Regions from separate parts of the Homo sapiens genome. Here all the other regions are linked to region 1. Evidence: promoter capture Hi-C in human tissues and cell types (Jung and others, 2019). All regions are on one chromosome and are shown on one strand. The core of a region is centred on a gene start or on the middle of the fragment in contact, and the rest is flanking DNA. Distances in the headings are between cores, read along the strand shown. Region 1 holds the start of MST1R (macrophage stimulating 1 receptor). Region 2 overlaps RBM6 (RNA binding motif protein 6). Region 3 overlaps RBM6 (RNA binding motif protein 6).

Evidence for each region. The method cuts DNA at HindIII sites, captures the fragments that hold promoters and counts their contacts. A contact is called where the count stands out against the background at its distance.
Region 2: a contact is called between a fragment that was not itself captured here and the fragment with the promoter of MST1R in region 1, in 5 of the 25 tissues and cell types used here (bladder, lymphoblastoid cells, mesenchymal stem cells and 2 more).
Region 3: a fragment that was not itself captured here is called in contact with the fragment with the promoter of MST1R in region 1 in 3 of the 25 tissues and cell types used here (lymphoblastoid cells, spleen and thymus).

The regions. Positions count from the first base shown.
Region 1 is chr3:49,902,414-49,905,429 of GRCh38, forward strand. MST1R (macrophage stimulating 1 receptor) reads right to left here and starts at 1,460. Exons shown (of 20, transcript NM_002447.4): 1 at 1-1,460. The coding sequence starts at 1,196. RefSeq lists enhancers at 1-484, 485-1,158, 1,795-1,844, 1,833-2,505 and a silencer at 1,385-1,604. The HindIII fragment of the contact is 20,801 bases long and covers 1-3,016 here.
Region 2 is chr3:50,000,719-50,003,734 of GRCh38, forward strand. The region is part of intron 6 of RBM6 (RNA binding motif protein 6); the gene reads left to right. Among named protein-coding and RNA genes, the nearest start is that of RBM6, 62 kb to the left of the region's middle. The HindIII fragment of the contact is 4,044 bases long and covers 1-3,016 here.
Region 3 is chr3:49,966,513-49,969,528 of GRCh38, forward strand. It overlaps RBM6 (RNA binding motif protein 6), which reads left to right. Exons shown (of 21, transcript NM_005777.3): 3 at 958-2,236. Among named protein-coding and RNA genes, the nearest start is that of RBM6, 28 kb to the left of the region's middle. The HindIII fragment of the contact is 6,700 bases long and covers 1-3,016 here.

The sequences.
Region 1 (3,016 bases), core at 210-2,709:
TCGAGGCCTCGCCGGAGGCCTGGATGGACTGGGGATTCACAACAGCGCTCCACACCCTCATCAATTAGTGTGTCCAGCAGGTCAATGGGGAAGGCACAGACGACAGAGTTGGGGCCCACGCCAGGACCACCATCCTTGCCAGTCACAAAGACCCCAAATAGTACTTCCTGGCCCTCGGCGATGCTCAGCTCAGTGGCAAGTTGGGCACCCACTGGAGCGGAGTGGGCCACCCGCAGCACAGGGTAGGGCTGTCCGCCTTCTGGGGCCCCCCGGCGCCTGCGTTTTGGAGCAAATCTGCAGTCGAGGACCAGCTCCCGATAGTCACCCAACTCTGGCTCAGTGGCGCTAAGCCGTGCCAGGCGTGTGTGCAGGGCACTAGGATCATCTGTCACGCTGGCCGGCTGTACAGTCAGGAAGTATACGAAGGCTCCCGTGTGGAAGCTGTGCACGTATTCAATACTGTAGGAGACAAGATGCTTGGGCAGCACTGACAACGCCACAAAGCCCGGTGCGAATCCCGAGGCGTCAGCCTTGAGACGCCTGATAGACACTGAGCGTGGGCTGAAGCTGGCAGCCACGGCTGCGTCCAGTGAGGATGCCACGTAGAAATAGGAGGCCTGGCCTTGCTCAACCACAGTTACACGGGTGCCCAATGGGCTGGCCACACAGTCGGGGCAGTCATCGGGCCGGTTATGGTGGGCTGAGAAGAGGCAGGCTGGCGCTGCCAGATGCACGGCTGTCCCTTGGGGCTCTAGGTCATGCAGGAAGCAGCGGCCCTGCAGGCTGGAGCCACAACTGACCAGCGCAGGCAGCGCGGGATCCAGCACCAGCACCTTTGTGTCTGTGTCACCGGGAGGGCCGTGGGGTCCTGGGCCACAGGCTGCACACGTCTGGCAGCCAGGGTCTCCAGCAGGGCCCGTGGCCAGGCTCTGGACAGACTTCAGGTCAGGCCCAAGCACATGCAGGCGATTGCGTATGGCTACAAACACAGCACTCTCATTTCTGTCGCCCTCGTAGGTCACCATGGCCTGTACCAGGCCTCCGGCGGAGAAGCTGGGCACCACGTACTTCACGTCAAAGTCGCGAGAGGCCGCGTAGGGGGTGCGCGGGCACTGCCAGTCCTCGCCCGCCGCGGGCTTGGCAGGCAACAGCAGCAGCAACAGGAAGGACTGAGGCAGCGGCGGGAGGAGCTCCATCGAGGCGAGCTGGGACCCTAGAGGATCCCTACCGGCCTGGGCCTGGACCTGGGCGTGGGCCTGGCTGGGGGCCCGACTCGAGGTCTGGACTGGGCCAAATTTAAGCAGCGGTCCCGACAGCCCCAAGATAGCGGACCCCCGCCCCAGGTTCCTGTGAAACCCAAATCCCTTCCCGGCCCTCGGGTCTGAGCACCTGACGCCTGCGGACGCACGACAGCAACGCCCCAGCCGCCTCACCTGCCGCCCCAGCCGCCGCTGTACACTGGCGCTTAGCGCTCAGCCGACCCGAGGGCGCCGGGCTGGGCGGGCGGAGTCGGGCCGTGGGGGCGGGGCCGCGAGGAAGGCTTGGCCTAGCCCAGGCCCTCCGCCCATCCGACTCTTCCGGCCCTTGGAGGCCTGGCTCCTGTACCTTCACCTGGCGTCTTGGCGCCTTTTTCTCAGCGGCCTGTGGGTGGATGTGCATGGTGTGGCCTGGAGAGAGGTGAGCCAGTCTGAGCCGTCCCATCCCATCCCCCCACTACCGACTGGTTCGCAGCGAGAAGGGGGGCAGGACACTGGGCTCTTTGCTTGCGGTGGAACTAGTTTGCACTTAGTAGCAACACCCTCAGTGGCTGGTGCCCAGAGGTGGCCTGGGGGCCCACCATGTGGAGAACAGAGACCAGGATTGTGTGGAAGACCAGAGGGGAGATGTGGGGCACTTACAAGAGATGTTATGGGGCGCCACCCTTTGTGGGAAAGGACTGTCCTTTTTTTTTTTTGAGAAGGAGTCTTGCTCTGTGGCCCAAGCTGGATTGCAGTGGCGCGATCTCGGCTCACTGCAAACTCCGCCTCCCAGGTTCAAGCGATTCTCCAGCCTCAACCTCCTCCTGTCTCAACCTCCTGAATAGCTGGGATTACAGGCGCGCACCACCACACCCGGCTAATTTTGTATTTTTAGTAGAGACAGGATTCACAGTGTTGGCCAGGCTGGTCTCAAACTCCTGACCTCAGGTGATCCGCCCGCCTCAGCCTCCCAAACTGTTGGGATTACAGGCGTAAGCCACCGCGCCCGGCCGGGACCATTCTTCCATGTGCTTCTCCTGAGCTATCAGCGACAAGATGGTGTCAGAGGAAGGTGTGTTATGCCCTGCTCTCCCAGGGCCATAAGGGTCTTAGGATGGGATCTGGCCTTGCTGACTGGACCTCAGAGTCAGAGAGGCACGTAAGTGGAGGCCCATACCTCCTCTGCAGCCTCAGTATATGGAAGCTGTATAATGGGGTCCACAGTATGGGCCTTGGGGACTCCCCCTTCCTTCCTGGCTCTACCCAGTGCCCCCCTGATATGGAGGAATCATGGGCTTTGGCTCTCAGGACACTTCCAACATGCTCTGTAGGCCTTGCTGGATCTTATTCTCTTCAATGAGAATGTAGTTCTGGGCTGGGCACCGTGGCTCATGCCTGTAATCCTAGCACTCCTTTGAGGGGCCAAGGCAGGAGGATTGCTTGAGGTTAGGAGTTCAAGACCAGCCTGGGCAACATAACAAAACTCAACAAAACAAAAAAACTGCTAAAAATGTTTTTAAAATAAAATATGTGACCGGGCGTGGTGGCTCACGCCTGTAATCCCAGCACTTTGGGAGGCCGAGGCGGGTGGATCGCTTGAGGTCAGGAGTTCAAGACCAACATGGTGAACAGACAGATCTGGCCAACATGGTGAAACTATCTCCACTAAAAACAAAAATTAGCCGGGCGTGGTGGTGGGTGCCTGTAATCCCAGCTACTAGGGAGGCTGAGGCAGGAGAATAGCTTGAATTTAGGGGGTGGAGGTTGCAGTGAGCTGA
Region 2 (3,016 bases), core at 377-2,876, 98 kb after region 1:
AGGCCCAGAATCTTAAAAGAAGGCTCTGCCAGAGAAGAGTAGTTATTAGATGAGAACTCTTCTTCTTCTGTAGCCTGATGCTTTGTTCAGCTTTGTTTAACTCAGTGTGGCTCATTATACGTACTTTTCTCTTCTTGGCCAAGTTCTCCTCTTATGGGTATGGAGATGACATGCTCTAAATGCTTTGGGAGCAAGCACTCATTAGAGAAGACTTTTGATGTATCCTTATCTTGTTAGTAGTTTAAGCTTGTCAGATCCTTAAAGAATGACAGGCTTAGGACCATATCCCCTAGACTTAAGAGGATTCTCATTGACCATTTGTTCAGTGTCCATCACTGAATCACTTACCAAATACAGTTGACACTCTGTATCCACAGGTTCCACACCCATAGATTCAACCAAATGCTGATTGGACATATTCAGGAAAAAAATGCATTAACACTGCAACAATAAAAAATAATACAGGCCAGGAGTGGTGGCTTACTCTGTAATCCCAACATTTTGGGAGGCCCGGGTGGGAGGATTGCTTGAGGCCAGGAGTTTGAGACCAGCCTGGGCAACACAGGGAGACCCCATCTCTACAAAAAATAAAAGTGAAAAAATTAGCCAAGTGTGGTGGCTATCAACTTGGGAGGCTAAGATGAGAGGATTACTTGAGTCTGGATTGAGACTGCAGTGAGCTGTGATCACTCTGCTGCACTCTAGCCTGGGGTGACAGAGTGAGACCCCGTCTCAAAAAACAAAAAAGTACAGTTAACTATTTATATAGTCTTTATTAGGTATTAGATATAAGTAATCTAGAGATGGTTTAAAGTATGTTGGAGGATGTGTGTAGGTTGTATGCAAATACCATGTGATTTTATATAAGGGACTTGAGCATCCTGAGATTTTTGTGTCCTTGTGGGTCCTGGAACCAATCCCCTGTGGACACCAAGGGACAACTGTACTAACCATGTGTCAGAAACTGCTACATGCCAATTTTGGAGAGAAGAAAAAAGCTTCCAATCTGTGTGCTTTCGGTGGATCCTATTCTGACAGTCTGTCCAATTTTGAGAACACTCATTAATTCATAAGCAGTGAATGTGATTAAGTCGTTCGCCTCTGTGCTAAATACTCAATGTAATAGCTGATAGCTGAGTGCTATAAAGAAAATGAAGCAGGGTATTGGGAGAATGCATCATGGTGGCAATTTTAGAGGGGTGGTCAGGGAAACTTCTTGAGGAGTGACATACATTTAAGTTGTGACTCTTGGCGAATAATGTATCCAGAACACTTACTATAGTACCTAGCACTTGGTAGCATTTGAATTAATTTGAAATTCAGTGTCCTTCTTTCTCTCTCTTACCCTCCTCCACATGTCAAGTAATTTCCAATTATAAATTTTGTGTGTGTGTGTGAGACGGAGTCCAGCCAGGCTGGAGTGCAGTGGCGTAATCTTGGCTCACTGCAACCTCCGCCACCCGGGTTCCAGAGATCCTCCTGTCTCAGCCTCCCAGGTAGCTGGGACTACAGATATGCGCCACCATGCTTGGGTAAATTTTTTTTCTTTTTTTTTTTTTTTGAGATGGAGTCTCGCTCTGTTGCCCAGGCTGGAGTGCGGTGGCACGATCTCAGCTCATTGCAACCTCTACCTCCTGGGTTCAAGTGATTCTCCTGCCTCAGCCTCCCAAATAGCTGGGATTACAGGTGCCCGCCACCACACCTGGCTAATTTTTGTATTTTTAGTAGAGATGGGGTTTCACCATGTTTGCCAGGCTGGTCTGGAACTCCTGACCTCAGGTGATCCGACTGCCTTGGCCTCCCAAAGTGCTGGGACTGCAGGCGTGAGCCACCATGTCCTGCCAATTTTTGTATTATTAGTAGAGATGGGGTTTCACTATGTTGGCCAGGCTGGTCTTGAACTGCAGACCTTAGGTGATCTGCCCACCTTGGCCTCCCAAAGTGCTGGGATGACACGCACGAGTCACCGTGCCTGGCCTTCAATTATAATTATAAGAAAATAAATTTATTTTTATATCTGAAGTTTAATAAAACTAATTCTTTAAGGAAATGGATGTGGATTAAACTCCTTATGACATAGTAAACAATCTTATGAGAGACATAAGAATGTGAGGGAAGAAGTCCTGTCTCCTCAGGGTGAATAAAGTAAATATTTTGGGAGGCTGAGGCGAGCGGATCATGAGGTCAGGAGAGCAAGACCATCCTGACCAACAAGGTGAAACCCCGTCTCTACTAAAATACAAAAAAATTAGCCAGGTGTGGTGGCGCACGCCTGTAGTCCCAGCTACTTGGGAGGCTGGGGCAGGATAATTGCTTGAACCCAGGAGGTGGAGGTTGCAGTGAGCCAAGATTGCACCACTGCACTCCAGCCTGCTGACAGAGCAAGACTCTGTCTCAAGAAAACAATAAAATTGAATAAATAAATAAATAAATAAAATAAATATTTGTGGAAGATAAAATGTGTTTGTAGGCCGGGCACTATGGCTCAAGCTTATAATCCCACCACTTTGGGAGACCAAGGCTGGAGGATCACTTGAGCCCAGGAGTTTGAAATGAGCATGGGGTAAATAGTGAGACCCTGTCTAAATTTAAAAAAAAAAAAAAAAAAAAAAAAGTCTTTGTCTATCCTTTCCCCCAGTTTTACTTACAGACCAAATTGGTATGGATTCTGAGTCACCACGATCTGCTTGGCAACTCTTAGTAGAGCCTGAGTGTGTGTGTGCCTCTGAGAAGGTTACTCCGAAGTACTTTGAGTTTTTTTGTAACTCTTTGCTATTCCGACTCTTGATGTGAAATGTCTTTTATTTATCATTGGCTGGTACTTGTAGGCCTAGGGGATGGAAATAAAGGAATTTTCTGCTAGCTTGCTTTGTCAAATATTGTTGGGTATGTGTGCCTTCGTGAAGTTGCTCAAGATGATAACCAAGGTCCCTCTAGCCTTTTCCTGGTGCCTAGATCAAGCTGTTAAACAGTAGGATGCTCTGCAGCAGTACTGAGCTTTGTGGCTGTGGTGACC
Region 3 (3,016 bases), core at 363-2,862, 64 kb after region 1:
TTGTTTATCTCTTGAGTTCTATAAATTGAGAATGTAAATTTAATACTATGTCTATTTTTAAAATGTATTTTATTGCCATGAAAAAGTAGCATGAGACATTGGAATATGGAATATCAGCTTCTTCATTTGGGTCATGGGGATCATGCTTGAAGACCTAATGCTCTCTCTAGGTCTATCTCAGCATTGAGCCCCTGGATGCTGTTGCGTGGCTTAGATGACTTATACATGCTTTGTGGCATGATTCATACTACCTTCTACCTTCTGTGATACCCTTGGGTAGTTATAATAGGACCCAGGTTAGAGTGCTTCTTGGTGGAGCCACTGTAGAACTGGGATTTAGATGCAGCCAGGGCTGATGCTCAGCTGGTGAACACTGGTGTGCTTGTTCCTACTGGTGATTTACAACCAGTGTTTCTTCTTTTTGGGCCTGCATCCATTTTGATTGGGTGGTGTCCATGCTGTATCTGTAATAAAATATTTTTGAATGTTACCGCTGGATGCAGCGTGAGAAAGATACCTCCTGAAACTTACTGTAAGAAATTTACAGTGCATTGATTTTTCTGATATATAGGAATCGTCATGTTGACCTTGGAATTCTTAAGTTCCCTGGCTGTAGGAAATGGAAATTTTTGTAGTATGTCACCATTGTTAGCTTATTTGGTATTGCGGATTTTCCCTGTTGCAGGACTGGGTGAAAGCTTTTTCTGCAGCAGTCATGTTGAAAACCTTGTGTTGACTTTCCTCGTGTTCTGAAATGGGAGCATAAAAGTTTACTCCGCCACTTCGTCTTAAAATAGCAAAACTTTGCTGTTTTCTGCAGATCTAGGACCTTGTTACAGAACTCTGCCAAAAAAAAAATGTTTACAGAAGAATGTGCTGTGATTAGAGAAGAATATGCTGGTGTGTAGATTTCAAACTCTCTGGACAATATGAATAACACTGTCTTTGTTTCTACAGTGGGAGCCAAGAAGAAAGGTTTGCTCCCGGGTGGAACAGGGATTATCCTCCTCCTCCCCTTAAGAGTCATGCTCAAGAGAGACACTCTGGCAACTTTCCTGGCAGAGATTCACTTCCCTTTGATTTCCAGGGGCATTCGGGGCCTCCTTTTGCAAATGTAGAGGAGCATTCTTTCAGCTATGGAGCTAGAGACGGACCGCATGGTGACTATCGAGGAGGGGAGGGACCTGGACATGATTTCAGGGGGGGAGATTTTTCGTCTTCTGATTTCCAGAGCAGAGATTCATCACAGTTGGACTTCAGGGGTAGGGACATACATTCTGGGGATTTTCGGGATAGAGAAGGACCACCTATGGACTATAGGGGTGGAGATGGTACTTCTATGGATTATAGAGGTAGGGAGGCACCTCATATGAACTACAGAGACAGGGATGCTCACGCTGTTGACTTCAGAGGTAGGGATGCTCCTCCATCTGACTTCAGGGGCCGGGGCACTTATGATTTAGATTTTAGAGGCCGGGATGGATCCCATGCAGATTTTAGGGGAAGGGATTTATCAGATTTGGATTTTAGGGCCAGAGAACAGTCCCGTTCTGATTTTAGGAATAGAGATGTATCTGATTTGGACTTTAGAGACAAAGACGGAACACAAGTAGACTTTAGAGGCCGAGGTTCAGGTACTACTGATCTAGACTTTAGGGACAGGGATACGCCACATTCAGATTTCAGAGGTAGACACCGATCTAGGACTGATCAGGATTTTAGGGGCAGAGAGATGGGATCTTGTATGGAATTTAAAGATAGGGAGATGCCCCCTGTGGATCCAAATATTTTGGATTACATTCAGCCCTCTACACAAGATAGAGAACATTCTGGTATGAATGTGAACAGGAGAGAAGAATCCACACATGACCATACGATAGAAAGGCCTGCTTTTGGCATTCAGAAGGGAGAATTTGAGCATTCAGAAACAAGAGAAGGAGAAACACAAGGTGTAGCCTTTGAACATGAGTCTCCAGCAGACTTTCAGAACAGCCAAAGTCCAGTTCAAGACCAAGATAAGTCACAGCTTTCTGGACGTGAAGAGCAGAGTTCAGATGCTGGTCTGTTTAAAGAAGAAGGCGGTCTGGACTTTCTTGGGCGGCAAGACACCGATTACAGAAGCATGGAGTACCGTGATGTGGATCATAGGCTGCCAGGAAGCCAGATGTTTGGCTATGGCCAGAGCAAGTCTTTTCCAGAGGGCAAAACTGCCCGAGATGCCCAACGGGACCTTCAGGTATGTTGATGGGGTGGATTGCTTTTTTTTTTTTTTTTTTTTTTTTTTTTGAGACGGAGTCTCGCTCTGTTGCCCAGCCTGGAGTGCAGTGGTGCGATCTCTGCTCATGCAAGCTCCGCCTCCTGGGTTCATGCCATTCTCCTGCCTCAGCCTCCTGAGTAGCTGGGACTGACTACAGGCGCCCACCACCACGCCTGGTGTGAGCCACCGCGCCCGGCCTGCTTTTTTTTTTTTTCTTTAAATAAGACTTTTGTGAAGGATGACATTTATTTATTTATTTATTTATTTATTTTTGAAACGGAGTCTTGCTCTGTCACCCAGGCTAGAGTGCAGTGACATAATCTCAGCTCACTGCAACCTCCGCCTCCCAGGGTCAAGCAATTTTCCTGCCTCAACCTCCTGAGTAGCAGGGATTGCAGGCATGTGCCACCATGCCCAGTTAATTTTTGTATTTTTAGTGCAGATGGGGTTTCACCATGTTGGCCAGGCTGGTCTCGAACTCCTGACCTCGTGATCCGCCCACCTCGGCCTCCCAAAGTGCTGGAATTACAGGCATGAGCCACCGTGCCTGGCCAGTTTTTTTTTTTTTTTTTCATTTTATTTTTATCTTTGCATAACCATTAGAAAGCAAAATTTGTATTCAGGAGTGGAATGTAGGAATGTAAATCTCTAGAGAAAAGGTCCTCAGCTCAGATCATATATATGTGTGTGTGTGTGTATATATATATATGAATATATATGTATATATATGAATATATATTTATATATATATATTTCTTT